6 separate regions of the Homo sapiens genome follow, and regions 1, 3, 4, 5 and 6 are each linked to region 2. The links are contacts of gene promoters, found by promoter capture Hi-C in human tissues and cell types (Jung and others, 2019). All regions are on one chromosome and are shown on one strand. Each heading gives the region's core, a stretch centred on a gene start or on the middle of the fragment in contact. The rest is flanking DNA. Distances are from core to core; before and after follow the strand shown.

Region 1 (3,985 bases), core at 942-3,441, 110 kb after region 2:
TTAAAGAAGATCTAAATAAACGAGAGATCTTATTCATGGATAGGAAGACTTAATATGTGAAGATGTTAATCTCCCCAAATAGATCCTAAACAATCCTCCTCTTCAAAATATCCTTTTAAAAACTGCAGCATGCTTTTGGGGGTAGAAACTGACCTGCTGATTGTAAAATGTATACAGAAAAGCAAAGGAACTGGGATAGCTAAGACAATTTCTAAAATGAAGAACAAAGCTAAAGGACTTATGTTATCTAATTTCCAGACTGACTGTAAAGCTACTATAATCAAGGTAGTACAGTCATGGCAAAGGGACGGATATACAGAATAATGGAACAGAATAGAAAGCCCAGACTCTCACATATATAGTCAATTGATATTTTGACTAAGATGACAAGCAAGTCAACAAAGAAAAAAATCGCCTATTAGGGAAGTGGTGCTCAAACAACTGCATATCCACAGACAAATGAATAAAACTCAGTCCTACCTGTATCATATAAAAATTAACTCAAAATGCATCATACCTAAGTATCCAACCTAAAACTCTGCAACTTCTAGAAAAAACCTTTATACCTCTGAGTTAGGCTATGTATTTTTAGGACATAAAAAGCATGAATCATAAAAGAACACTTTGATACATTGAACTTCATCAAAATTTAAAACTTTTGCTCTTTGAAAGACACTTACAAAATAAATAAACAAGCCAGAATGGGAGAAAATATTTGTAAAATACATATCAGATAAAGGACTTGTAGCCAGAATAAATAAAAACCTCTCAAAACTTAATAAAATATACAGCCTAATAAAAAAATGAGCAGGAAACCTGAGCAGACACATCCCCAAAGATATACAGATGGCAAATGACCACATGAAAAGATGCTCATCATCAGTCCTTAGGGAAATGAAAACCAAAACCATACTGAGACCACTGTATATCTATTAGAACTGCCAAAATTTTAAAAAGACGTACCATATCAAGTGAGGGTGAGGATGTGTAGCAACTAGAACTCTCACACTGCTGCTGAGAGTGTAAAGTGGTTCAACCACTTTGAAAAACAGGTTGGTAGCTTCTTAAAAAGTTAAACACATCCTTAACATAAATTCAGCCATTCCACTCTTAGGTATCTACCCAAGATAAAGTACAAAGACTTGTATAAGCAATAGTAGCCAGAAAAAATAAGAATACATACTGTATGCTTCCATTTATATAAAAATCTAGAAAATAGAAGCAAACCTATCATGACAGAAAGCAGATCCTTGGCTGCCTGGGAAGGTAAAAAGGGGACTGGTGAAGGGCAAGGAGGGATTACAAATGGGCACAAGGGAAAACTCTTGGGATAATGGATATGCTCTTTATCTTGACTGTGCTGATGGCTTCACAGGTAAATACCTATGCCAGAACATATAAAATTTTACACTTTAAGTTTGTGGACTTTATTGTATGTGGAATTCTAACTATATAAAGAAGTTTTAAAAATACGAATGTTACATAAATAATAATAGCCTGCTTTAGTTTAGCTGATTTCCCACAAGGAATTAGGTACTTTAAAGATTTATTCTGAAAAAAAGAAAATTATTTCTACAGCAAGAAAAATAAAAGTCGATTTTGAGAAACTCACCTGATGATAATGATGTGTAGTCTGTATCAAATGCATGTACATGTTGTATACAAAGTTTGCCATCTGGGGCATATTTTTTATTATTTGTACTTCATGAGATGGTCTCTCTCCATTCTAGAAGAAGGAAAAAAGAACGTTAAGTATCTAGTAAAACAACCCTAGAAGGTAACACTTCAACATAAACCCATTTCTTAATCTTATGAATAAGCACAATTAGGGTCTGGAAGACCTAACAGTAAGAGGACATAAAATGCAAGTGTGAAGAGTCCAATGAAGACTTCATGAATGTTAAAAAAAGACTTAAATAGAATTAATAAAAAGGGGGCCCAGGTCAGCACGCTCTGCCTGCTGGCCACGTGACTCCCATTAAAAAAAAAAAAAGACTTCATGAAGAATAGTGATTCCATTGAAATTTAGAAAGGTTAGAGACTAGAAGAGCTAAGAGTTGCCAGCTTTTAATATAATTTTGGGCTGGTAAGTTAAGTATGGGTTTTAGTTTACTATCTAATATAAAAGAATTAGTACAAGATAAGTAATTATTTGACTAGAGAGAAAAGTCAACACAGTCTGAAACAGCAGTTTCTAAGACTGTGTATGCTCCAAAGACAGTTCTTAAGATAATTCAGAAAGAAAATATTAACACTCTTTGTCCTACTTATATTTTTCTAAAAAGTAAGAGGCTAACATTTACTTTTATTTAACACATATACTATGAGTCAAGAGGGTGAATATTCAAATGCTCTTTTTAAGATTTTGGTGTCTATCAGAATCATCTGGGGTAGACTGTTAAATTGCAGGTACCTAGGCTCCAGCCCTATAGATTCAGATTCAGAAGGTCTGGGTGGAATGAGCTGATTCTTCTGTAGCTTCTGACAACAATCTAAGAAACACTGCTCTATAAGTGTAGGTAAGGTAGTAAAGCAAATCAAGAAAATACAGAATTTGCACTTCTTTTTAAACCACCCTAAAATAGAGATTAACAACTTTCCTATTTATAGTTATTAATAAAATGCTTATAAAGTCTTATCCTTTCTTATGATAGGAACAATTTAGAAAATCATTAAGGTAAAAAACATACCCCAAAAAAGGAGGATTCAATCTCAAAGTGAAAAGTTATTTAAAGAGCATGAAGTTAGAAATAATTTAGTAAATTAAACAACATTTCTCAGAAGTAAGCAGGATGGCAGCATTCCATCTAAGCAGGTATTCTTTTGATTAATGGTCATTTTCTGCAATGGTCAGAACTCGTATGTACAAATACGGCCATGCTATTATGACTAGGAACATGGAAGAGTTTTTGCTTGTTAGCTTATTTTCTGGAGTCTTGCCAAGAGCTGCCTTTCCTTGAGACACAGCACTCTCCGCCCCTCACTATCTCTTGAGGAGAAGATGGGGAGATGTTCTCAGCCCTAACCTCCCCAGGGCCTTGAACTCATGAGTGTTATCTAAAGCATGGGTTTCCAAGCCTTCTGTTCAGTGATATTGTCTGACCTGCACTCCAGATTTCTTCAGGTGTGACATGTAGCCCTTACATAGAAAGCACGTGGGGAGCTTGTTACACATGATGACACCTAGGCTCTGTCCCAGACCTCTTGTCAGGAATGTGCCTGTTTACTAGCCCACAAAAGATCAAGAAACTCGGATATAATAGGATTGTGTCTAGACTTGAGCCTGACACTTGAGGCTTTATGTGACCCTACCACCCCATGATCTCTCTCCACCATTTTCCTATTTCTCCACAGCAGCATTTCTTCAAAAATAAGTAAATAAAAAGGCACTTTTTATAAAGTACTTATTATTATTAAACACACAAGATTTAAGTTTTTTTTTAGTAGGGGTGGAGGGAAGACGTATACTGTGAACATCTAAAATAATGTTATTTAAAATCCAATGGACCCCCCTAGGACAATTCATTAAATGAAAAAGCAAAGCCCAAAAGTCTATAGTATAATAACCTGAAGGAAAATAATATAAAAGTAACATATCTCTTCTCCTTTATACAAAAGGAATATAAGGATAAACGTGAAACTAAAGAAACTGGTTACCTATGGAGGGAAGGTGCTAGGAAAAGGGGAGAAAGAAGGGGAGATAAGAGGGAGTAGTATTTCTCTATCTTTTCTTTAAATATATGTGCTCTCTCCTCCCTCATTTCCCCAGAATGTAAGCTTCTTAAGAACTCAACTATTTATTGCTCTATTTCCAAGTAAGTAGTTAAGTTCTCCTTACAAAGCTGAAGACAAACAGTACAGTATAATGATAAATAACATGAACTCTGGGATGTTATTCGAAAAGACCTCCTGGCTTTTCAGATCTTGGATCCTCTATCTGCTAGATGCATGGCCAAACTACTTAGCTTCTCTGACCCTAAGTTTC
Region 2 (4,092 bases), core at 1,308-3,807:
CCTTGCCATCCCCCAGACCTTCATGAAACCTGCCCTCTCACACATAGGCAGAGTCACTGGACTGAGTCCTGCCAAAATTGGGAACACTGACCCTTGGCAGGTCCTTGTTACGAATCTCATAGATTGACTTTCTCTTGGCCTGAGCCCCTCGCACAGCCAGCTTGATCTTGCGCCATCCCAGGTGGTTGAGTTCAGCCAGGTTGAGCACAACACAGATGCCACTTACAGCAAACATGAACACTAGAAAGACAGTCTTCTCAGTTGGCCGGGACACATAACATTCCACCTCCTTGATGCAGGGGTAGCGGTTACACTCATACAACCCTGGGACACTAAAGCCATAGAGAAAATATTGGCCAACCAGGAACCCAATTTCCAGGGCATTTCGGAACACCACTTGGATAATGTAGAAGCGGGAGATGCCTTCCTGCCTTCTGAGCTTGGATTTTGATGCAGTGCGTAGACCTGATGGGTGTGGAGTCAGCTCCTTAACCTCTAAACAATCTGGCTCTGTCTCCTTACTGGTGTTCTCTGTGTTCTGCAGCACCCCATTCACAATAGCATTTTGCAACTTCTTATCTTCTCGTTTGCCCCCACCACTGCCCCCACCCCCAGTTCCTCCAGGACCTCCTATGGACTCAGGGGGGTCTCTGTCCAGGGCTAGGAAGACTGTAGAGTAGCGGCGTTCTCGCTGCTTGGCGGACTGGTGCACAGAGTAGGTGATGAAGCAAAGACTGGGGGTACACACCATTATGATCTGGAAGACCCAGTAACGTATGTGGGAGATGGGGAAGGCGCGGTCATAGCAGGCCTGGTTACAGCCGGGCTGCAGGGTGTTGCACACAAACATGGTCTGCTCATCATCGTACACCGTCTCCCCCACAATGGCCACAATGAGGATCCGGAAGATCACCACCACAGTCAACAGGATCCTGAACGGAGGAAGAGGGAGGGAGAGAGGTTCTCACGGGCTGCGTCACTGACAGGAAACCCCTGCTCCTCCCTTCCCTTTGCTGGTGTTTACCAGTCTTTTGACTGGGGAGCTGTCCATCCCGGGCTGGTACTGAACTAGGAATCTGGGAAAGCTTTTTGTCTCTTCCTTTTCTGCTGAGTGCTGGTAGGCTGGGAATATTTCATATTATAGAGATCCCAGGTACACACATCTCCATACACTGGACATAGTCTACTTGCAACAGATAGATTTCATCTCTCTATATAGAATGTATAGAAACACAAAACACACCTTCACTCTGGATATGGCAAATGCACACAGAATACCTTTACAGATGGTGCATGCTTCGAGGTCTACACACAGGGTGTGTAAATAACTACTCCATGTGTATATTTAGTTTATTCTCAACATGAATATTAAATTTAATGCTTTATATAAGCAGATGGCTATGAATATATATTCATATATATTGAACTCATATATATATAAAGCTAGGTAGATAGAGACATAGATATAGATACAGACCCAAAAATGGCAATTGGGTGTGTAGGCTCGGTAAGTTTACACCGCCAAATAAGTTTGGTTTAGTAATTATTTGTTGAGAAAAGAGGCATCTGCTCTGAAGAGCAAATCCATCTCCCCATTTGCCCTTTTCTGTCCAAATGCAATCCTGCCTTCTTTGTAGATTCTATTTAGGGAACCAAATGGAGATTGGCTCTGACTCTGGAGAGTGGAGGGACCAAGACTGAGCCAGCGGCTCCTTTTCTGATGTGGGAAGAGTGAAGCCCCAGTGGTGCTTGATGGGGAAGGGATGGGCAGCTGGTTAGGAGTAGCTAGAGGAGGGGGGCATCGCGGGGCGTCGGGTAATCCCTCATCGCCGGGAACACCGGAGCCTTGACCTAGGACGATGGGGAGGAGGCAGAGGACGGACTGGGGATTGGAGCGGGAGACTCAGTCCAGGTGTGAGAAGGGACTCCCGGGGGCCGCCCGACGGGGCCCCCTGACCGCCGGCTTGGCGCCCTTACCTCCCGATCATAGTGGAGTGCTGCTGCACCGCGGCTTCTAGCAGCCTCTCCAAGATGGTCCATTCCCCCATCGCTGTGCATCCGGAGGCAGCAGACAAAGACTGGGCAGCACCGGGCACGTTCCCGCTCCTGGCCCCTCCCCGGGCCGCACTTCCAGAATGGGAGTGAATTGCCTCCCAATTAAAGAAGCAATTTTTTAAAAAATCCTCGAATCCCCCTTTCCTTTTATTGTACTTAAAAGAGAAGAAATGGGGAAAGAAATCCAAGCGCGTCCCGACCGATGGGGCAGTTGGCGCGGTCTAGAGAGAGGGCACGAACCTCGGGCGCCGTCCGGGGTTCGGGTCTGGATCCCGCGGACGCCGGGACGAGGGGCGGGGCGGGGTGGCAGCCTGCAGGTCCTCCAGCGCTCGCCCGCCCAGGAGAAGTCTCAGCGCCGCTCTCCGCCGCAGGTTGGGGGCCAGGGGAGGGTCCGAACACCGGCTCTGTTCCTGCTACTTCAGCGGGCACCTGGCGCTCCGGCGCGGCAGCCTGCGAGGCCAGGGCCGAGCGCGCGGAGCCGAATGCTGGGCTCGGGGATCCGCGGCCGCCGCCTCTAATCCGCCCTTAAGTAGTCTCCGCCTGCGTCACGCCAGGTCGGCGGAGGGGAGCAGAGCGCGCCGTGCGGCTGTCGCTGCGCGTCGGAGCCCGAGGGGCCGGGGACGCGCGCGGGGGGAGAGGGGCAAGAGTCCTGGAGGCCCGGCGGGGAGCGGGGCGATTTCGAAAGGAAGGACTGCAGCGCCCCTCGGGGCTTCTCGGGGAGCCCAGGTAACCTCACCTGACCGCCAGACCCAAGCAGGCGGAGGGGGAGCCGGGAGCGGACGCGTGGGTGAGTGGGGAGGGGAGTGAGTAGGTATCTTCTCTTCTCTCGGTGCATCCCTCACCTTTTCGCTTTTTGCCTCCTGGAGACAACTGAAATTCCTTCCCTAGATGGAGATGCTGGCTGAGGGAGGGCGAGTGGGGGCGACCACTTTTAAATCTCCCTTAGGGGACAGAGTGGCTGAGAGTGCTTCTGCAGAGTGGCTGCGGTTCGGTGCCTCTGTGGATCCGACAGTGAAGTGAGAAAGGCTTGATGGGAATCCATTTAGGCTGAAGGGTAAATGCAGGTGTGGAGCTGTCTCTCGGTATAGGGGTCAGGGCACACGAGCGCATCTAACAGGTGCCTCGCAAAGAGCAAGTGGGGTGGCCATGGTTAAAGGTCTCGCTTCCCCTTGCACTAACCCAGATGCTCGGCTCTTTTTAAATTATTGCTATTATTTTACTAATGGGAAGGGGGGGCGGGGTACTCGTCAGGTAAACTGTGATTTAATCTGAATTTAAGACCCAGTATTCTGCTAGCAGAAACAGAGCCACTCACAGCCTCGCCCTGCCCCCACTTGCCTTACTGGGTTTGGCTTTCTCCCCTCAACCAGCAGATCCCGGTTTTTAAAATTCACATTGTGTTGTCAGTTCTGTCTAGAGCAACTACTTAATTGGTTGCTGAAAAATTGAAACAACCTCACTAAGCTGCTAATTAGCCCAGGGGTCAGTATTAGGAGACACTGTAGCTGGCAGTGTTTGATGTAAATGTACCAAAAGTCCAATGGGAAAGTAATTGTCATCCTTTCGAAAACACGACCTTGAAAGGGTTGCTAACTTGTCCTAGGCATATAAAGGGACCTAGCCTTAATTATCCACAGGGATCATAGCACATATGTATATTACATAAGCCACACCATGGTGAGCCTTCACTTCTGGAACAACCGAGGTGGTTGGGTAGTTGGTGGCCCAGGGACTGGGAAGAAAGGTGCAGGGCATGGCCCTCAGTCCACTCACAGTGTACTTCTTCATAAAATGATGTTTAAACACACGGTCTAAGCTTCGCCGCCAGAAAGATCACTGAAATCCTCTGCTAGGGTTGACATCTTTACCCCAAGAAAGCAGCCTTTCACTGCAAAGGAGTAAAAGAGTCCACTAACAATGGAGAGAGGGATAAAGTGATTTATTAGTTTCCTTCTGAACACGGAGGAGGTTCAAGGGTGAGGACGAATGGATACCCTATTATCCAGTTAGCTTCCAGATGGAATGGTGATCCCCTAA
Region 3 (3,848 bases), core at 1,164-3,663, 89 kb before region 2:
ATTTAAACTGCTCAGTGTCTTGACTGGTGGTGGATGCATGAATCTACACAGATGATAAAATTGAGTAGAATTTAATACACATATACACATGCCAATGAGGACAAGTAAAACTGGGGAAATCTGAATAAAATGACTGGATTGCACCAAGGTTTCTATCCTGAATGTGATATTATATCACAGTTTTGTAAAATGTTATCATTGGGATAAGTGGGTAAGGTACACAAGGGATATTTCTGCATTATTTCTTACAACTGCATGAGCGTCTACAGTTATCCTCACAAAAATTTCAACTACAATAAAAAGAACAAGCTATAGACTGAGAGAAAATATCTGCAAATCATATATCTGAAGAAGGACTTGTATCCAAAATATACCAAGAGCTCTCAAAGCTCAATACTGCTGGTGCAGGGGCACACACCTGTAGTCCCAGCTATTCAGGAGGCTGAGGTGGGAGAATGGCTTGAGGCCAGGAGTTAAGATCACAGTGAGCTATAATGGTGCCTGTGAATAGCCACTGCACTCCAGTCTGGGCAACATAGCAAGACCTCCATCTCTAAAACAAAACCAAACCAAAAACAAACCCAAGAAAACCCTCAATATTAAGAATATAAACAACCCGACCAAAACGGGCAAAAGATTTTTAACAGACACTTTTCCAAAAACATATACAGATGGCAAATACCAGCATGAAATACCAGCTCAATGTCGTTAGTCATTAGGGAAATGCAAATTAAAACCCAGTGAGATACTACACACATATTAGAATGACCCAAATTAAAAAAGACTAACTGTACCAGTGGTTAACAAGGAAGTGGATGAACTAGAACTCTCATTCACTGTTGTTGGAAGTACAAAATGGTAATGCGCTTTGGAAAATAGTTTGGCAAATTTTTTGAAAGTTAAGTATACTTTTACCATAGGATCCAGCCATTTCATTCTAGGTATTTACACCCAAGAGAAATGAAAGCAGACCTTTTACAAATACTTGAACATGAATGTTCATGGCAGCTTTATTTGTGATAGCCAAAAAAGGAGAAACAGCTCAAATGTTCATCAGAATAAATAAACAACTTGCTCTATACAAACACAATGGGAGGCTACTTAGTAATAAAAAGAGAAGGAATATTGACATATTGTAAATCTCAAAATAATTATGCCAAGTAGAAGAAGCCAGTCCAAAAAAAGTACATACTGTATGATTTGATTTATATAAAACTCTAGGAAATGCAAACTAATCTATAGTGACAGAAAACATATTAGTGGTTTCCTGGGAAGGGAAGGGAGTCATGGTCTGGGAGAAACAGGACAGACAAATTACAAAGAGACACGAGGAAACTTCTAGGATGATGCATAGGTTCATTATCCTGATTATGGTGATGGTTTCACAGATATATACATATATCAAAATTAATAAATTGTACAAGTTAAATACATGCAGTTTAAGTTATGTTTCAATGTTTTAAAAAGGAATTTTAACAGAAAGGGGATTGTTCTATAAAAATATAGTTGAAATGCTTTGGAATAACCCAACAAAAATATATCTGAATTTTTAAAATTGTTATCAATTTAGATGTAGGAGAAACCAACATCAAAGACTGGGCAGTATGTATGTGGTAATGGTGGGAGGTGGGTGGAATTTGCAAAAATCCAGAAGGAAGATGTACTTAAAGTGCTTTGCAAGTGTTTTTTGTTTGGTTTGGTTTGGAATTTTTGAGACAAGAGTCTCACTCTGTCACTCAGGCTGGAGTGCAGTGGCATGACTATGGATCACTGCAGCCTCGACCTCCTGGGCTCAAGTGATCCTCCCACCTCAGCCTCCTGCGTAGCTGGGAACACAGATGTATGCCACCTGCCTAATTTTTTTTAGTTTTTGTAGAGATGGGGTCTCCCTATATTGCCCAGGCTGGTCTTGAACTCCTCAGCTCAAGCGATCCTCAGCCTTCCAAAGTGCTGGAATTACAGGCATGAGCCACCGCACCTGGCTTGCAAGTGTTATTTTTCCACTTGAGAAATGATGACTACAAATTAAAGAAAATGCATTATGGATGTAGTTTATTTTAAAAAGGTAATATAGAACTATAAGCGGAAGACTCATCTCAAAGTAAAAGGCTGTGGCTCTCTATCAAATGATTGGCAAATGAATATATATATATACATATATATATGCTAAAATAAATGCTTAAGGTAGGCATTGTTTTGATTCCTCAATTTAATAAAGTTTTTCAATCTTATTAGGAATTTTGATGGTTTCAAATAGGAGGCCTTCTACTATAAGGGTGTAAAGATTTTTATAGATACAAGCCTCACATTTCCAGCTAAGCCATTAGATATCTTGCCTCAGTGAAAGAGATGAGGAAGTTTCATCAGATTCCTCATGTTCTCTTTTCCCCTCTGAACACGGCTCCTATCTTCAGAACCTTCAAGCTTCTTAACTTCTACCCTTCAGGATTTTAAGTTGAAGCTGAAGAAAGACTCAGCTTCAGAAGCCCAGAACTCTGCAGATAGATGAAAACAGTTCTCCACTGCTATAAATAAAAACCTGAAACCTGTCACACTTGGTTAATATCACCCACGTTAGGAGCCATGGACAGAAAGGAAAGAGGCAAAAGCAAAACATCTGTTGCTTTATTTAGAAACCAAGCTCATGACAGAAAAACAAGTCACCGGTTTTCAGGCACACAGAGATTTCAAACGCCTTTTCCTGTAAGATTCGAGTTAGGGAATACCATGTTCAGTCCTGGTTAGTGGCTGCAACACTCAGTACCAACTAGAGCAGAAAGAAACACAGAAGAGCTTCCTTTGCCTCTGTTGACAACTACCCAGAGCCTGAAAAGTCTGCATCTCAGATTCAGGCCCTTTATCCAAAGACTTACGGACGGGAAGCAACGCCCATCCAATGCCTATTGATTATTAACATCAGCCCATTTCTCAACTTAGCAATTTCTAGAAACTCAGGAGCAGTCAGAAGGGTGTGGTTTTCATAGATCTGATGATCAAGGCTGGTGCCAAGGCAGCTGCCCTGCAATAGGGTGGTTTGAGGATGCCCCAAACTCTCCCACCCAAAGATCTCTCTGCTCTGGATTCCATACCCACCTGCCATGGAGCTGGATATGTTCCTGCACAAGACTGGCAACTCTCCTGCTGAGGAGTTGCTCCATCAGTTATAAAGCAAGTGTGTACCTGGTCACAGCAGTCTATGGCCCAGTGCAGCACATCAATGCATTGGGAAACGATATCCAAAACAAAACCCTAGAGCATGAATCAGGGGACAAAGAGAAGGAGAAGTATAGTATACTGAGCACTCAACTGACAGGGGAGGGAAGAGTTATATCTCCTCTGAGCAGCCACAAAGCAGTATGAGAACATGAGCAACAGAGCTGGAAAGATGCTGAAGAATTCCCACCTTCACCACTTTACCTAAGGCCAACCTTGCTGAAGACTCAGGGACTTAGAATTGCTACCAAATCTACAAGCATAGGTGTTCTTGGAATTGCTTCTCAGAGAGGAATGGATATTTTATTCATTCATTTAACCAAGATTTATTCATCTTTGTGGAGCATACAGACTAGTGGGAGAGAGACAGATAATAAGCGGAATGAATAAAGAAATGTAACAGGATATGAAAACGTAATAAGTGCTGGGGAGATAAATTAAGTTAGGACCGGCATAGAGAAAGTCATGGGCTACTTTTTTTTTTGAGACAGGGTCTCAGTCCCATGCCCAGGCTAGATTGCAGTGGTGTGATCATGGCTCACTGCAGCCTCAACCTCCTGGGCTCAAGCAATCCTCCATCTCAGCTGAGACTGCAGGAGCATGCCACCACACCTGGCTAAATTTTTGTATTTTTT
Region 4 (4,164 bases), core at 552-3,051, 80 kb after region 2:
GCTGAGGCAGGAGAATGGCGTGAACCTGGGAGGCAGAGCTTGCAGTGAGCCGAGATTGTGCCACTGCACTCCAGCCTGGGCAACAGAGCAAGACTCTGTCTCAAAAAAAAAAAAAAAAAAAAAAGCTTCACCTATTACGGAGTGGAGAACATTGCTGTGCAGGAAAATTATATGGGAACAACAGATACTGATAAAAGTGGGTCTTGTTAAGGCAGAATTCTGTAAGAGGATAAGGGAGGAGAAGGGGATGGCTGTTTTCTGTGTTTTGTTGACTCTGGGCAGCAGATTTTACAACAATAGGGTATGTTTCAGCCCATTCGGGCTGCTATAACAAAGTGCTGTACACTGAATAATTTATAAATGATAGAAATATATTTCTCACAATTCTGGAGGTTGGGAAGTCCAAGATGAAGACACCAGCTGATTCAGTGTCTATAGAAGACTCACTCATAGATTCATAGATGGTGCCCCTTGCTGCATTCTTGGCTGAAGGGGCTAGGGTGCTCTCTTCAACCTAATTTATAAGGGCACTAGTCCCATTCATGACAGCAGAGCCCTCATGACCTAATCACCTATCTAAGGCCCCATGTCTTAATATTACTGCATTGAGGATTAAGTTTCAATATATGAATTTGGTGGCGGGAACACCAATATTCTGACCATAGTGGGGTGGAAAGATTTAGATATCTATATATAAATAAGCCTGAAATGGTTGTTCAATTCTGATAAAATTTAAAGATAATGAGAAAAAGATTTTTCTGCGCATGGCAACTCCCATTATACTGTACTTTAAAGGGAATAGAGAGGTTTCTGATATTAGTCCCATCTTCTGCCTCTTTAAAAAGCTATTGGTATGCACTCAACACTGGAGCACCCAGATATAAAAAGCAAATATTATTAGAGCTAAAGAGAGAGATAGATCCAAATACAATAAGAGTTGGAGATTTCAGCACCCCACTTCTCAGCATTGGACAGATGTCCCAGACAGAAAATCAACAAAGAAACATTGGACTTAATCTTCACTATAGAACAAATGAACCTAATAGATATTTACAGAACATTTTATCTAATGGCTGCAGAGTACATACTTTTCTCCTCAGTATATGGACTATTCTCAAGAATAGGCCATATGTTAGGTCACAAAGCAAGACTTAAAACATTCAAAAAATTAAAAAATATCATCTTATCTGACCACAATGGAATAAAACTACAAATTAGTAACAAAAGGAACTTTTGGAAACTACACAAACACATGGAAATGAAATGATATGCTCCTGAATGACCAGTGGGTCAATGAAGAAATTAAGAAGAAAATTGAAATATTTCTTGAAACAAAGGATAATGTAAACACTACATACAAAACCTATGGGATACAGCAACAGCAGTGCTAAGAGAGAAATTTATAGCTATAACAACCTACATCAAAAAGAAGAAAAACTTCAAATAAACAAATTAAATTAGAAAAGCAAGAGCAAGCCAAACCCAAAATTAGTAGAAGAAAAGAAATAAAGATCAGAGCAGAACTGAATGAATTTGAAACAGAAAATAATACAAAAGATCAATAAAAAAAGCTGTTTTTTTGAAAAATATAAACAAAATCGACAAAACTTTAGCTAGACTAACCAAGAAGAACAGATAGAAGACCCAAATAAATAAAATCAGAGATGGAAAATGAGACATCACAACGGCTACCACAGAAACTCAAAGGATGATTAGTGGCTACTATGAGCAATTATATGCCAATAAACTGGAAAATCTAGAAAAAATGGGTAAGTTTCTAGACATGCACAACCTACCAAGATTGAACCACGAAAAAATCCAAAACCTGAACAGACCAATAAAAAGCAATGAGATTGAAGCTGTAACAAAAAGTCTCCCAGTAAAGAAAAGCCTGGGACCCAATGACTTTACCGCTAAATCCTATCAAACATTTAAAGAACTAATACCAATACTCAAATTTTCCCAAAAAATGGAGGAAGAGGGGATACTTCCAAACTCATTCTCAGAGGCTAGTATTATCCTGATGCCACAACCAGACAGAGATCAAAAAAGAAAACTACAGACCGGTCTCCCCAGTGAATAGTAATGCAAAAATTCTCAACAAAATACTAGCAAACCAAATTCAACAATACATTAAAAAGATAATTCATCATGACCAAGTGAGATTTATCCCAGGGATGCAAGAATAGTTCAACAAATGCAAATCAATCAATGTGATACATCATTATCAACAGAATGGAGGGCAAAAACCAGATGATAATTTCAATTGATGCTGAAAAAGCATTTGATAAAGTTCAACATCCCTTCATGATAAAAACCCTCAAAAAAGGTATAGAAGGAGCATACCTCAACATAATTAAGGCCATATATGACAGACTCACAGTTAGTATCATACTGAATAGGGAAAAATGGAAAGCCTCTTAGATCTGCAACATGATAAGGAAGCCCTCTTTCACCGTTGTTATTCAACATACTACTGGAAGTCTTAGCTAGAGCAATCAGACAAGAGAAGAGATAAAGGGCATCCAAATTAGAAAGAACTCAAATTATCCTTTTTTGCAGATGACATGATCTTACATTTGGAAAAACCTAACAATCAACATACAAAAATCAGTAGCATTTCTATATGCCAACAGAGAACAATCTGAAAAAGAAATTTAAAAAGCTATCCCATTTACAATTGCTACAAACAAAATTAAATACCTAGGAATTAACCAAAGAAGTGAAAGATCTCTACAATTAAAACTATAAAACACTGATGAAAGAAATTGAAGAGGGCACAAAGAAATGGAAAGATATTCCATGTTCATGGATAGGAAGAATCACTATTGTTTAGATATCCATACTACCTAAAGCAATATACAGTCTCAATGTAATCTCTATCAAAATACCAATGAGATTCTGCATAGAAATAGAAAAAATGTCCTAAAACATATATGGAATAAAAAAAAAAAAGCAACTAGAATAGCCAAAGCTATCCTGAGTAAAAGGAAGAAAACTGGAGGAATCATGTTACCTGACTTCAAAGTATACTGCAGACTATGGTAACCAAAACAGCATGGTACTGACATAAAAACAGACACATAGACCAATAGAACAGAATAGAAAACCCAGAAACAAATCCACATACCTACAGTGAACTCATTTTTGACAAAGTTGCCAAGAATGTACATTGGGGAAAAGACAGTCTCTTTAATAATTGATGCTGGGAAAACTGGATATCGATATTCAGAAGAATGAAGCTGGATCCCTATCTCTCACCTTATATAAAAATCAAATAAATTTGGATTAAAGACTTAAATCTAAGACCTCAAACTATGAAACTACTACAAGAAAACACTGGGGAAACTCTCCAAGACATTAGTCTGGGCAAAAATATCTTGAGTAATACCCCCCAAGCACAGGCAACCCCTAAATTGGTTTCCTCTTACCTTTTCTAGAGATGATGGTGATGACAGCAGTCTACCAATGTTTTTGCATTTCTCTGGCTCTCCAGATATGGTAATGAATGAATGAATAAATAAATAATTTTAAATGCCTGGGAAAAGCAAAGATACCCTAGCATAAATTTCCTATCTTTAAGATTTTGGGCCAGGCATAGTGGCTCACGCCTGTAATCCCAGCACTGTGGGAGGCCGAGGTGGGCGGATTACCTGAAGTCAGGAGTTTGAGACCAGCCTGGCTAACATGGCGAAACCCCGTCTCTACTAAAAGTACAAAAATTAGTTTGGCATGGTGGCATGTGCCTGTAGTCCCAGCTACTCGGGAAGCTGAGGCAGGAGAATCACTTGAACCTGGGAGGCAGAGGTTGCAGTGAGCCAATATCACTCTAATGCACTCCAGCCTGGGTGACAGAGCGAGACTCAAAAAAAAAAAAAGAAAAAGAAAAAAAATGGATTTGTCTGTGCACATTGCCACATTCAGGTAAGTGAGAGTTTGGAGCTCACTAGGTAATGATTAATGCCGACCCCAAGCAACATATACAGCTGCAGGACGGCCAGCATCCTTCAGAAGCTCCACACAAATGGATACATGATTGGTAAACTTCCCCTGCTGAGTTGTTAAGTGGGGCCATGCTAGCTTCCCAGACTTGAAAAGAAATGAAAAGGACAACCTCCTAGGACAGTTAGGCCACCACACCAAGAAGGTGGCCTTAGCTCATAA
Region 5 (3,675 bases), core at 9-2,508, 120 kb before region 2:
CCATTCTCCTGCCTCAGCCTCCCAAGTAGCTGGGACTACAGGCGCCCGCCACTACGCCCGGCTAATTTTTTTTTTTTTTTTGTATTTTTAGTAGAGACGGGGTTTCACCGTTTTAGCCGGGATGGTCTCGATCTCCTGACCTCGTGATCCGCCCGCCTCGGCCTCCCAAAGTGCTGGGATTACAGGCGTGAGCCACCGCGCCCGGCCCATTTTTGTCTCTCCTACTAGATTTTAGAAGTTTTGAGATGCGGGACTTTGATTTATTCATCTTTCCCTTTAGCAACCATCTGTATTACCTGACACCTAGCTCAATGCCTGGTACATAGGAGATACTCAATAACAGTTGAATTAATGAAAGTATATGTAGATGATGGAGTAGGCTAGCTAAATCAGGTTAGGGGAGGTGCAGCTGTCAATGTCCATCTCTGGTTATAAATCCTGGGAAAACTGTATTAAGGGTTTGAGGATATAATGAAGCTTGTAGTCAGTCAGAACATCCTTTCTTAAAACCTTCCCAGGATAAAACAGGCCAATTGATTACACAAACAAAGTATGAGACTACAAGGGAAACTGGCCCTGTTTGTTCCTCTCCCCTGCAAGTTAATCACATTTGACCACATAATTTCATATTTACAATGCATTTTCTATTTATGCCACACCAGAGATGCTACTGGAGGCACTTTACTTAATTTTTAAAATTTCTAATGCTAGCACACAATGACTTATAAGTTCCTATTTTTGTGTTTTTTAAAAAAAACATGTTTAGATCCTTTAAATATTTACTAACATTCAAGTTTCCATTTTAAACACTTGGGACATATTCCTGAATTAAGATTAACTATTATATTGATTAGAAAAATGCTACTGGTAACAGTACAATGCGAGTCTAGAATAATGTGTCTCATTTTTAATGCTTTGTTAGTACACTGTCATTTAGAAATTCTTTCCTCTCATAACTGTGGATAGATCCCTGAGAACCAGAAAAAAATTGGATAATAATACTTTGAATTGATTATTATCTTCTACTTCTGGAATTGTAAAATATACATATTTTTTATTTTTTAAAAAGTGTGAAAGCTAGTTTCACTGCAGATGCTAATACATAGAGAGCAATTTATATATGAATTCTGAAGGGGCCTGGAGGGAAGAGCTTTTTCACACAGACAGATGAATTAGGAGACTTAGCTGACAGGGTCATCACCACATTTCTTATTGGAAAAATGAATTTCTATTGCAGGGCTAGAAAATATTTTTTAAAAATCCTCAAGTAGGCTGTAGCATTCAATGAATTATGTCATAAATTGAATGGAAAGAGAATCTGAGCATGTCTTGCAGAATAAAGAGTGAGAAAGAGACCTGCAACATCAGGCATGCTAGATAAAGAAAAATATCTTAGGCCAGCAAAGAGAGCTTCTGGGCTCGAGGTAGGAAATTGAATGGTTGTGTTTAAGTGAGTGCTTCAGTAGCATTTTACATAAAAAATTCATCTGTTTTTCAAAGTAATATACTATGCTAAATGCCGTTTATGTCTTTTTACTTCTGTTGCCCCACTTAATGATTATAGATAGAAATTCAATCATTGTAGAAGTAGTCAGCTTTCACAAGGTGGCCACTGAATAACACGAATGGTATTTGCTCTTTGCAAATAAATAAGAAGGCACTGGATTTATATTGGTAATTTAGAGTAGCTTAGAAAGCCAACTGAAAAAAAGGAAGGGAGGAAAAATGAAGGAAATAAGAACAGAAGAAAGGATGGGAGGAAGAAAGGAAAGAAAGCGAGTGGGCTGCCTCAAGTAGAACAAACACGAGAACAACTGACAAACTTTCAGTGAGTCTTGGAACATACAGGCAGTTTGAGGTTCTATTTAATGTGTCAAGATGTACTGTGTTTTCGAGATATTTTAGTCAACTGGACTTAGTAGTAATTCATACTCTCCACAGCATCATAAAAGTTTCAGTTTGTGCCAGGGAAGATAAACTATTTTGAAGTAACTTTGAATTTCATTTCTACCTTTTCACCATGTCTGCATAGACATGGCCTTATTGTAGCACATAGCTCACTGTAGCCTCAACCTGCTGGACTCAAGTGATCCTCCTACCTCAGCCTCCTGAGTAACTAGGACTACAAGCATGTGCAAACATGCCCTACTAATTTTTTATTTTTTTGTAGAGATGGGGTCTTACTACATTGCCCAGTCTGGTCTTGAACTCCTGGCCTCAAGCAGTCCTCCTGCCTTGGCCTCCCAAAGTGCTGAGATTACATACATTGGTCAAAGGATCTTTCTTAAAAGGTAAATCATGGTTGTCCTATAAAAAGATCACATGTCAAAGATTTTACTTATTAATTCATGAGGAAATGAAGATTTTACAGCTGGCTCAAAGGAGAATCCAAAGAGCAGTCAAATATGTAAGTCCATCAGAAATGCTGAAGTGAATTTGCTTAGCAGGTACAAAACAGGTTATTATCTACAAGGCAATAGTCCCTTGCATTTTGCCAGATGCAAACTACCTTTGTGGTTTGCTTTTGTTTTTTTGAGGCAGGGTCTTACTCCAGTCGCTCAGGCTGGAGTGCAGTGGCATGATCACAGCTCATTGTGGCCTTAACCTTCTGGGCTCAAGCGATTCTCCTTCCTCAGCCTCCCAAGTAGCTGGAACTACAGGCACACACCACCACACCCGGCTAATTTTTGCATTTTTTTGTAGACATGGGATTTCACCATGTTTCCCGGGCTGGTCTTGAACTCCTGGGTTCAAGAGATTCACCCACCTTGACTTCCTGAAGTGCTGGCATTATAGGCCTGAGCCACCATGCCTAGCCCAAATTACCTTTTCATGACAGGAATCATTTACATTACTATTAGTTTTCTATGACTTTGACCTTACTAGTAACTTTCTAGTAAATGTGAATAGATAAAAATATACATTATGGTAATGAAAATAGAATAAAGTGGTAATGATTCTTTGATTCTTTTTTTTTTTTTTTTTTTTTTTTTGAGACAGAGTTTTTCTCTGTCGCCCAGGCTGGAGTGCAATGGTGTGATCACAGCTCACTGCAACCTGGAATTCCTGGGCTCAAGCATTCCTCCTGCTTCAGCCTCCTGAGCAGCTGGGACTACACACACACACACACACACACACACACTACCACACCTGGCTAATTTTTTTATTTTTTGTAGAGACAATGTCTCGCTATTGTTGCTCAGGCTGGTCTTGAACTCTTGGTCTCAAGCAGTCCTCCTAAATCAGCCTCCCAAAGTTCTGGGATTACAGGCATGAGTCACCGTGCCCAGCCAGTAAAATCATTTTTTAAAAGTTAAGTATCAGCAAGTCTATAAGAAACTGCTTCACTCAAGTTTTCATACAGTGTTAAAAGATATAAGTTGTTTCCATCTTTTGGAAGTGAAATTCTCATATAGCCTTGAAACTATAGAGATTTTTCTACCTTTGACCTAGTAATTTTACTTCTTAATCCTAGGGATAGAGAATTATAGGTTAAAAACTAAGTTTATTTTTTCTTTTCCTTTATAAATAAATTCTGTAAGACACTAAAGCACAAGGCCACTGTATTTTGGTATCCTGCTAACAGAATGTTACATAAAAACAGGGGGAGGGCATTCTCTTCTACTTCACTGCTCTGAACTCAACAGCCCAGAGCGCTGGGAGCAGTGTCTTGCA
Region 6 (3,626 bases), core at 140-2,639, 71 kb before region 2:
AAATGGGAGTTTTGGAGTCAGACAGGCTTTGGTTAAAACCTTGGTTATTAAATATCTTTGGATTTTAATTTTCTTCTTTTTAAAGAGAAAATGATTATCAGCATAGTTGTTCTGGGGGTTAGAGAAGTTATAAGTATTTGGTCTAGTGCTTGATGCATAGCAGAGGATCAATAAATAACTGTTACTACCCTTGTATTAATAATTATCATCAATATAACAATAACTATCATAAAAATAACCATAGATGAAATGTCAAGATTTGTTTAACCATGTTGAGAACTAGAAGAGAAGCATTATTGTGATAAGCAATAAAGAGAAATAAGATTATGGAGAAAGTCATACTGACTGATTTTCATTCCCCATTTTATTCTTTTTATTCCCCATTTCAACACGTATCACATTTACTGAGAAAAGAAACCATCATTCAAAAATAAAGCCCAGAGGGCCAATTACCCAAGGAGAGCTCATGCCCAAATCATGTCTGGCCGGGGAAGAGAATAAAATTTTAACATGCATTCCCAGGGGCCAAAAGCTGATCTCTCCTCCTACCACTGGGTAAGATGATAAAGGTATGGAACAGCAGGTGAATGTGTATTTGTTCTCCAGGGGAAAGCGAGTCAAAAAGGAAGCAGAAACAGTCTACGAATGAAATTTCTCATTTCCCTTAGGGTGAGCTCAGAACTGGGCACATTCCTCATTGAACACTCACCTCTCATCGGGGATCAACATGTTCAGATGTGCCATACCCAGGATGATTCATCGTGATCAAAGAAAACAATGTGATTGTGGTAAATCCCTTTATCAGTGTAGCTTATTATTACTACCAAGAACTTGAATTGATTCAAGCTACAGACTTGAATAAACCTCATGATTTAGTAAAATAAACCTCACTGATTTTCCGAAGTCTCCAGTGAATTAAACCAAAGCAAAGTTGTCCATTCAGATCCCTGCCCCCACATAAATAAACTTGGTACACCATTTTGAATCTACCTTTTAACTTATTAAGGAAATCTAAAATCAGATCACTATATTTTCTAAAGGACATCCAAACAAAATTAACTTAAATTACTACAAAGATGTAGTAAATATATTGGTAGTCTCAGTGTGGTGCTGGTAAATGTTTAATACCTGGCTCACTGGGGAAAAAAGTATATATTACACATATATACATATATATGTATATATAATTTTATATGCCATATATGGTATATATACTAATATATATTAGCATTTATATATAAGATATGAATTTAACTGATACAAAGGACATGCAACATATAATTTATGAATAATAAAGTGTACAATACTTTTTATTATAAATTCCATAAAGCCAATTGACTCTACAGAATGCTTTTGTTGATTTTTTTCTGAACGCTTGTATCCATAACCATTCTGTGGCAGTAAACAAATGAGTGTGGTTCTGATCTGAATGTTGGTCAATATTTTTATTTATGTTATTAAATACTATGAAAGTTAAATAAGGAAGACTTATGTCAAACCTTCACTCATTTGTCAATAATGTGAGCCATTGCTGGTTCAGATAATGACTTTTGAAAACTGGAAGAATAATTTTTGTGCCATTCACAATTTAATGGCTACAGGCACAATATACTTACATATTTTAATCTGCATTAGTAACATTTTCTCTATCAATACCTTAAATCTAGACAATCAGCAAAACAATAAAGCAGGCCATGATTTGTATTATCTGACCATTTCCATGGTGTAAATATTTGCACTATAACTTTTTCAAAAGGCCAATGTAGACAGGAGAATTGCTTGAATCTGGGAGGCGAAGGTTGCGGTGAGCTGAGATCGCACCACTGCACTTCAGCCTTCCAATAGAGCGAGACTCCATCTCAAAAAAAAAAAAAAAAAAAAAAAAGGCCAATGTGATGTCACTGAACACAGAGTTGGAAGAGATGTGCAATAGCTGACTATTCTATAGTATTTTCCAACACATATACACAACCATAAATAGCATCAAGAGCATAGATAATAGTATGTGTAAAAATCATTAGAAAGTGATGACTTTTGAGTGTTATCTTTAGCATACTTTATTGTAAGTATTTAATACAATTTAAATTTTCTTTTTTTTTTGTATTTTTGAGACAGGGTCTCAGCTCTGTCACCCTGGCTGGAGTGCAGTGGCGCATACTTGGCCAATTTGCAAATTTTCATGGAGATGAAGTCTCACTATATTGCCCAGGCTGGTTTCAAACTCCTTAGGCTCAAGCAATCTGTCCACCTCGGCCTTCCAAAGTGCTGGGATTACAGGTGTGGGCCACTGCGCCTAGCCTAATTTAAGTTTTGATGATGACTATGTTTATCTACCAGCATTAAAAATTTCTGAATTTAACAACAGGCACTTACAAGCCTGCACAAGAACTTCCAGAACACTGGCTGTTTACACAACCTTTGTTCCCCCTTCTTCCTTTTTTTTTTTTTTAATGCTTGAAGATCTCACCTGCTTCATCATCACCATTGATGACTTGGAAGATGACCTAACCCCCAGTTCTGCAGCCCACCATGGTAATTCCAGTTCCCTTGTATGATTTGAGAAAGGCCATTTAACTCAATTCTGGCTAATAAGGTGTGAGGTAAAGTCCATTGGAGGAGTTACAAAAGAAGTTTCCTCATTTCTAGAAAAGAGGCACAGAAAGAGGTGGCCCCTTTCCTTTCTCCAGATATTGTCATGACTTGGTGGGATCAAGGAATGGCTATAGCCTACCAGTTTGCGGGTAGCTCAAGTCCTGTTTGGGAGATGAGGCTAACTCACAGGAAACGAAGACAAATACAATATAGGTTATACATGTCTGTTTTTCTACTGAGTAGTAACGTAGTCTCTGAATTTAACAGGATTTCAGATGAAAGTTTGATCAGCAAGGCCAGAGTCACCAGAGAAGGCTCATGGAAGGAGTGTGATTTGGTTCAGGTCATAAAGAATGAGTGAGGTTTGAGAAAAAAGGGAATAACAATTCATATGCAGAAAAAATATGGGGGCCAGTCCAAGTGGCTAACATTTATAATCCCAGCACTTTGGGAGGCCAAGGTGGGTGGATCACCTGAGGTCAGGAGTTCGAGACCAGCCTGGCCATCATGGCGAAACCCAGTCTGTACTAAAAGTACAAAAATTGGCTGGATGTGGTGGTGTGCACCTGTAATCCCAGCTACTCAGGAGGCTGAGGCAGGAGAATCACTTGAACCCTGGAGGTCGAGATTGCAGTGAGCCAAGATCGTGCCACTGCACTCCAGCCTGGGCAACAGAGACTCTGTCTCAAAAAAAAAAAAAAAAAAAAAAAAATGGGGAAAGGCGTGGTAAGAATCACTACAATATGGTGAAAAGCTTGGTCTTTGGAGACAGATCTGAGTTAGAATTCCTGGACTACCACCAATTTTGTTACCCAGAGCAGTTTATTCAACTTAGCAAAGCTCAGTTTCCTCACCTGGAAATGAGAAATAATATTAGTACTTACACCATAGCATCGTTTTAAAGAATGAACAAGGTAATGCAGGTAAAGTGCTAAGAACAGTGGCTGGCATACAATAAATATTCATTAAGTGATAATCTTTATCATTTGTTTTGAAACTCATGTTATTATAAGTTTTACTCCTCATAAGCTATT

What was found. The method cuts DNA at HindIII sites, captures the fragments that hold promoters and counts their contacts. A contact is called where the count stands out against the background at its distance.
Region 1: a contact is called between a fragment that was not itself captured here and the fragment with the promoter of GJD2 in region 2, in 2 of the 25 tissues and cell types used here (H1 embryonic stem cells and dorsolateral prefrontal cortex).
Region 3: a fragment that was not itself captured here is called in contact with the fragment with the promoter of GJD2 in region 2 in 3 of the 25 tissues and cell types used here (adrenal gland, dorsolateral prefrontal cortex and mesenchymal stem cells).
Region 4: a fragment that was not itself captured here is called in contact with the fragment with the promoter of GJD2 in region 2 in 2 of the 25 tissues and cell types used here (heart right ventricle and mesendoderm cells).
Region 5: a contact is called between a fragment that was not itself captured here and the fragment with the promoter of GJD2 in region 2, in 2 of the 25 tissues and cell types used here (IMR-90 fibroblasts and thymus).
Region 6: a fragment that was not itself captured here is called in contact with the fragment with the promoter of GJD2 in region 2 in 3 of the 25 tissues and cell types used here (aorta, heart left ventricle and mesendoderm cells).

What each region holds. Positions count from the first base shown.
Region 1 is chr15:34,858,430-34,862,414 of GRCh38, forward strand. AQR (aquarius intron-binding spliceosomal factor) reads right to left here. Exons shown (of 35, transcript NM_014691.3): 34 at 1,613-1,726. Among named protein-coding and RNA genes, the nearest start is that of ACTC1, 65 kb to the left of the region's middle. The HindIII fragment of the contact is 4,126 bases long and covers 129-3,985 here.
Region 2 is chr15:34,752,441-34,756,532 of GRCh38, forward strand. GJD2 (gap junction protein delta 2) reads right to left here and starts at 2,558. Exons shown (of 2, transcript NM_020660.3): 1 at 1,978-2,558; 2 at 1-932. The coding sequence starts at 2,048. The coding sequence ends at 38. It overlaps GJD2-DT (GJD2 divergent transcript), which reads left to right and starts at 2,644. Exons shown (of 3, transcript NR_120329.1): 1 at 2,644-2,781. The HindIII fragment of the contact is 7,022 bases long and covers 1-4,092 here.
Region 3 is chr15:34,663,324-34,667,171 of GRCh38, forward strand. No RefSeq gene overlaps it. Among named protein-coding and RNA genes, the nearest start is that of LINC02252, 9.5 kb to the left of the region's middle. The HindIII fragment of the contact is 3,983 bases long and covers 423-3,848 here.
Region 4 is chr15:34,832,718-34,836,881 of GRCh38, forward strand. No RefSeq gene overlaps it. Among named protein-coding and RNA genes, the nearest start is that of ACTC1, 39 kb to the left of the region's middle. The HindIII fragment of the contact is 5,149 bases long and covers 1-4,164 here.
Region 5 is chr15:34,638,668-34,642,342 of GRCh38, forward strand. The region is part of intron 1 of LOC124903462 (a long non-coding RNA gene); the gene reads left to right. Among named protein-coding and RNA genes, the nearest start is that of LINC02252, 15 kb to the right of the region's middle. The HindIII fragment of the contact is 4,905 bases long and covers 1-3,675 here.
Region 6 is chr15:34,682,128-34,685,753 of GRCh38, forward strand. No RefSeq gene overlaps it. Among named protein-coding and RNA genes, the nearest start is that of LINC02252, 28 kb to the left of the region's middle. RefSeq lists an enhancer at 1-1,083. The HindIII fragment of the contact is 5,135 bases long and covers 1-3,626 here.